Linked DNA regions of Homo sapiens: region 1 is linked to region 2. Evidence: promoter capture Hi-C in human tissues and cell types (Jung and others, 2019). All regions are on one chromosome and are shown on one strand. The core of a region is centred on a gene start or on the middle of the fragment in contact, and the rest is flanking DNA. Distances in the headings are between cores, read along the strand shown. Region 1 overlaps CSMD2 (CUB and Sushi multiple domains 2). Region 2 holds the start of GJB5 (gap junction protein beta 5).

Evidence for each region. The method cuts DNA at HindIII sites, captures the fragments that hold promoters and counts their contacts. A contact is called where the count stands out against the background at its distance.
Region 1: a contact is called between a fragment that was not itself captured here and the fragment with the promoter of GJB5 in region 2, in 1 of the 25 tissues and cell types used here (bladder).

What each region holds. Positions count from the first base shown.
Region 1 is chr1:34,112,091-34,114,943 of GRCh38, forward strand. All of the region lies in intron 1 of CSMD2 (CUB and Sushi multiple domains 2), which reads right to left. It also overlaps the pseudogene RNA5SP42. Among named protein-coding and RNA genes, the nearest start is that of CSMD2, 52 kb to the right of the region's middle. The HindIII fragment of the contact is 3,201 bases long and covers 1-2,853 here.
Region 2 is chr1:34,753,194-34,756,359 of GRCh38, forward strand. It overlaps GJB5 (gap junction protein beta 5), which reads left to right and starts at 1,854. Exons shown (of 2, transcript NM_005268.4): 1 at 1,854-2,002. The HindIII fragment of the contact is 2,696 bases long and covers 723-3,166 here.

The DNA of each region.
Region 1 (2,853 bases), core at 274-2,773, 640 kb before region 2:
CTAAAAATTGTGTCAGGGAGTAGTAGAGAAATGTACTTCCTCTTACAGTCTCTATAAAAGGAAACCCTAACAAGCTTATTGTTGCCCCTTGCCCATACACATGCAAACCAAGGTGAAAAACATGATCAGGCTGGGCATGTGGAGACACTGGGTTCAGAACCCAGCCCAGTGACCTCAGACTTCTGTTTAGAAGACATTGCCATGGCCATTTCCCCAGATGCCCAGTTCTGCCCTTAATGGCCTTTGCTCACCCTGGGCTTCCCCAGTCTTGTCAGCTGCAGCCCCAGCCTATATAACTACCTGCTGTCCAACCGCCTCCACACTGCAGCAGACAGCTCTATCTATAGGCACTCCAGCCATGAGGTAACTCAAAGGGTTTCCCAGTGGACTGCTCTGCAGAGTTATGTGAATGAATGTCCTGGAGACCCTTCAAAGCCTCCAGAAATACTTCCAATACTAGCCTTCTTCTCCTGTGGGCATACTATGCTTTGTCACCATGCCAGAGACTGGGGCATGAATTTCTGGGTCATATGGGCAGCCTTGAGAAAAATCAAAAGTATATGTTGAATGAATGAATGAATGTGCCTTCCAATAAGATAATCTATAAAGAGTAAAATCTATATAGGCCTCTAGAATCTAGTTAGTCCAATGCTAGAGATTTCTGGCAAGAAATTCACAGGCTTGGGAGTAGCATGGGGATATAGAAAGAAAAGGATTCAAGCCAATTCAATGGATTTTTACTAGGGCCTCCTAAAAGACAGTCTGACCCTTCCCTGACAATGCTCATGGCTGAGGGGCAGCTGGTGTGTGGGTGTGTAATATAGGAAAGCAAGGAATTTATAGAAAGGAGAAAAAGAGATCTACGGCCATACCACCCTGAACGTGCCTGATCTTGTCTGATCTCGGAAGCTAAGCAGGTTCAGGCCTTGTTAGTACTTGGACGGGAGAAAGGAGAAAAAGAAGGACATGGATGGGAAGGTAGGACCCAGCTTCAACCCCACCATTGTGAGCTAAGCTCTACTCCTGGCTGAGTCACTCATGGCTCAGACTTCTTAACTTGGGTTTGGAAATGGTTGTGTCTCTGAGCTTCCTCATACCCTCCTTGTGACACTTCCCAACTGAATTCTTAGGATCAAGAGGTATTTATCTCCCCATGCCCTCCAAGAGAAAGTGTGGGTCTTAAAACGCATGAGTTGAGAGAGCCAGAGGTGTCACACATGGGTGGCAGAGCAGCGACCCAGGACCTGTGACTCCTGACAGTTGTCACAGATGCAACATCCTCTCAAAACATGTCTAACCTTGAAATGGCTAGGAGCACATGTTCATCCATAGCATGAATAATATGCAAGACGCACATGGGTGAACAAAGCAAGACCATCACATGCCCCATGGTCACTTGTTAGCTGGGAGAGACTTTATTATGGCCCAACAAGACCTTTATAATTGTAAATCCCTGGCGCCCCCTCATGGCCCTTACAGTCCTGTGGCTTCTGCTGAGGGGCAGTGGGGGAAAGGTGCCTGGAGGAGGTGCCAGGGGCTTGGGAGTGACATCAGCTAGATGGCAGAATAGGAAGCCCCAGACATTCTGCCCCACAGAAACACTGACTTAACAACAATACACAGTCCAAAAAAGCCTTTATGAGAACTCTAGAAACCAGTTAAGAAGTTACAGTACCCCAGGCAAGCTCAAAGTGAAAAGCCACCATATTGAAATGCATAAGAAAAATTGTTTCATGTCAACCATAAAAACCCTTCTCCCAACTGTCACAGTTCAGTGAGACTGAAGGAAAAAGTTCAACTTGCAGCTTCCCCCTTGGAAAGGAAAGAGAAGAGCATAGCATACATTCAGTGTTCCCACTTTTCAGTGGGCTGCAGAGGGACCGGTTTCTGTCTCACCTGACAGAAACCAGAGTGCTGATGGGGAACCAGCATACTTTCAATGCCTGGGGGCCATGGAGAACAAAAGACAGTTCACTGGCTTTTTGCAACACCAGAGAACCTGAGTACCATAATCAGACACCAGAGGGAGCAAGAAATTACAAACCCTTGAAGGAAAAACAAACAAGACCCAGTAAACCTCTTTAATTAAGAAAGTACACATGCAAGCTCAGAGAATATATATCCCAAGGAAAGCCCCCAGAACCTCTAGCTGCTGAAGACTTTCCCTTGTGTAAAACTACTCTGTAAAGACTGGGAGAACTCCTTTGTTGTTGTTGTTGTTGTTGTTGTTTTTCAAATGCAGAAATCACTAAAAAAATAACAAAGCACACTTAAAAAAAAAAAACGAAAAACAAGGCAACATGGCTCAACTAAAGGAAGAAAATAGGCTGAGCACAGTGGTTCATACCTGTCATCCCAGTGCTTTGGGAGGCCGAAGCAGAAGGATAATTTGAGGCCAGGTGTTCCAGACCAACCTGGGCAAGATAGCAAGACCCCCATCTCTAAAAACAATTTTTTTTAATTAGCTGGGCATAGTGGTACACCTATAGTCCTAGCTACTCAGGAGGCTGAAGCAGGAGGATCACTTAGGCCCAGAAGTTGAGGTTACAATGAGCTATTATCACACCACTCCATTCCAGCCTGGGAAACAGGATGAGACCCTGTCTCAAAAAAAAAGGAAGGGTGGTGTACATAATAAATCTTCAGAAACCAATTCTAAAGAAATGGAGATCTATTAATTATTTGACAAAGAATTCAAAATCATTGTCTTTAAGAAGCTCAATGTGCTACAAGAGGACACAAATAGACAAACTAAATAAAATCAGGAAAATGATGCATGAACAAAATGACAATATCAACAAAAAGTTAGAAACTATAATACAAGATCAAACAGAAATTCTAGAGCTGAAGACT
Region 2 (3,166 bases), core at 604-3,103:
TGAAATGGCCCCGAGTACAGTGCTGAAGTGCCATCTAGTGTTTCTAAGCACACGAAGGCTACGATGAGCCTTATGGAAAAAATATGTGTGTTAGACAAGCTTCATTCAGTCATGAGTTATAGTGGTGTTGGCTATGAGTCCAATATTAATGAGTCAACAATATATATTAAACAAGGTGTCTTCAGAAACACACATAAAACAGACTTCTGTATTGATCAGTTGATAACCACATTGTAAACAGAAGCTTGCAGGAACCTAACCTCATATGTCCTCTAGGAAGAATGCTTCAATATTCACTAACTTGGTGCTCATGGTGACTCATAGACTATAACTACCTTGAATAATGAGAATCAAATGTACCAATCTGACCATGTCTCTTCCTTTTTCCTGCCTCAGCACAATACAAAATGTAAAAATAGAAAAAAGAAAAGAATTCCCTCATGCCTCCCTCTGCACCCAAGATAAATTCAAACTCCTTAGCATGACATTCCAGGTCCTTCATGGTCTGGAAGGTCTTTGCTGACCTTCCAGGCTCCTTGCCATGTGGTGTCCCCACCACTACCCAGCCCACTCTCCAATGCTCTTCCATTATTTTTCACAAAGGTCCTCTGCACGCTATGTGCCCACTGCCTCAAAGGCCCCTCCTCAGCATCTCTTCTTGGTAAACTCCTATACATCCTTCAAGACCCAGCTTAAATGTTACCTTCTCCGGCTCTCCCTCTGGCAGAACTTAAAACTCCCTTCTCTCTCTGTGTCTTTTCTAGGACTTCTCACAATGTTGTAACTGATCTCTTTATATGCCTCCTCTCTCCTGTACTTGGCAACAGCTTTTTGGAAAGAGCATGGAGTATAGAAATGTGTGACTCTCTGCAGGGTGTGTGCATTTCACACATCATTCATTCAATAAATATAAATTGAAGCCTAACTGGACAAGACACCAGGCACCATACTAGGCACAAGGGATAGAGCAGTGAATAAAATAAAGCCACTGCTGCATGTGTGTGCAACACTGTGCCCATAATTGTGGCCTGTGTGTAAGAGTATGCTCATGTGAAGCTACATTGTGTTTGCTTGTGGACATGAGGTGTTTGTGGCTCCTGGATGCTTTGTCTGTTGAATCCTGACCCCAAGTGACCTGCTGATACAGGGCACCTTGGAAGTCAATTAGGCCAAAAGACCGTGTCTGTGCACTAATGAGAAGCTTTCCCCAGGTGCCCCTGCCCACCTTCTCCACCTCTCCTGTGGTTCCTGCCTGGCTTGGGTTTGGCCTTTTTAACCCAAAGACAACATGCATCCAAATGAGATTTTCTCTAGTGCATACGTCTCTCTCTCCCTCCCTTCTCCTCTGCCTTCCCTGTATCTCAGAAAGAAAAGGCCTAGGAATAAGGAAAAGGAGGAGGAAGAAACATTTTTTTGAGGACATACCATGCGGCAGGCCTGTGCTGGGCAGTATACACGCATTATAGGCAATTGTAGACAGGGCTTCCCTTGTGTCAGGCACTGTTCTAAGCACTTCACCCCTAAGGCTGGGTTAATCCACGTATCCACCCTATGAGGTAGGTGTTGTTCTTTTCCCACTTTCACAGAGAAGGCAAGAAATCACACAGTGAGAAAGTGGCAGAGCTGGGATTCAGGCCTCAGCTTCTCCCACACAAGCCCACAGATGGGAGGATGAACAAGGAGTCAGAGTGGACCTGTGGCTCTCCCCTGAGAGGATACCAGGATTCGAGGCTCAGCGCCCTGGGAGGAGTGAACCCCTCAGTTTCCTGAGCCTCATCAGAAGCAGTCTGGGGAGGCTGGGGCCCAGCCAATGGCAGTGCAGGTCCCAGCTCCTCCTCCTCCCAGGCTGGGCCAGCACACCCGGCAGGCTCTGTCCTGGAAACAGGCTTCAACGGGCTTCCCCGAAAACCTTCCCCGCTTCTGGATATGAAATTCAAGCTGCTTGCTGAGTCCTATTGCCGGCTGCTGGGAGCCAGGAGAGCCCTGAGGAGTAGTCACTCAGGTAAGGGCATCTGTGTCCGCATGTGCCCTGCCCCTTGGCATACGTGGCAGGAGGACACTTCTCTGCTGGGGAGTGGTGGGATGTGGCCTGGACACATCTGCCACCCTGGGTCCTGATGGTGGAGGAATAAGGGGCTCTGGGTTCTTTCAGGTCTCCCCAGCCGGGCAAAGGTAGGAGCAGGGGCCAGGCCGGAAGCTCAGCAGGCAGGGTAGCTCTGCCTGGGCCTGCAAAGCCCTGCCCCACTCCTCCCCAAGTAGGGATGGGCTGGGTGAGAGCCCCTGGGGCTAAGGGCGGGGCCTTCCTGGGTGTTCCCTGAGAAGCTGCAGGAGTCCTACCTTAGACAGGACTGAGCATGCAAGATGGTGATTCAAAACAGAGCTCCCCCCAACCCCGGCCCCCACCTCCACCCATCCCCCGTCCAAGTGGCGCAGGTGGTGTGGAGACAGGGTGGTGGGCAAAGGTTCCCCCAGCCACCCTCATCCAGGATCCACACACAAGGGGAAGGACAGAATCCGTCTGCACACAAACAGGCAGGCAGCTCATTGAAACTTGAGGAAAGGGTCTGAGGCCTAAGGCTGGGCAGTTCCCGGAGGGTGGGCTCTAGAGCCAGCCTGCCTGGGTTCAAATCCTAGCTCTGCCACTTATTAGCTGTGTGACGTTGAGCAAGTTAATTAATCCCTCTGTGTTCCTCTTTCCTCATCTGTAAATTGGGAATAAAAAATATGCCCTTTCCTAAGGTTGCTGTGAAGGAATAATGTACTGATTCATACAAAGAACTTAGAGCGGTGCCTGGCACGGCATGAATGCTTCATGGATATTGGCTGTTATCACTACTCTGCTTTGCAGTTGATCATGCAGAGGCTCCAGAGAGCCTGGTGAGCTTCAGCCTGGACCAGCATGGGAAGGCCATCATGAGCCCTTTAGTGGCTAGGCAGACAGGTTCCTTGGGGTCCCAGGGTGCACAGTTGGTTGAAACCACAGTGCATGGGTCTTAATGGACACACCCCCATCTCCAGGAATCAGGCAGAGGACTCGCGGGTGAGGAAGTGGGGACCCCTTACTCTGCCTAGCAGTCACAGTCCTTACGCGGAGGTGAATCTGATTCTGTGAGTTCATCAGGCCAAATTCACCAGCAGAACTGACAGGAGCAGCATTTCCCACTTG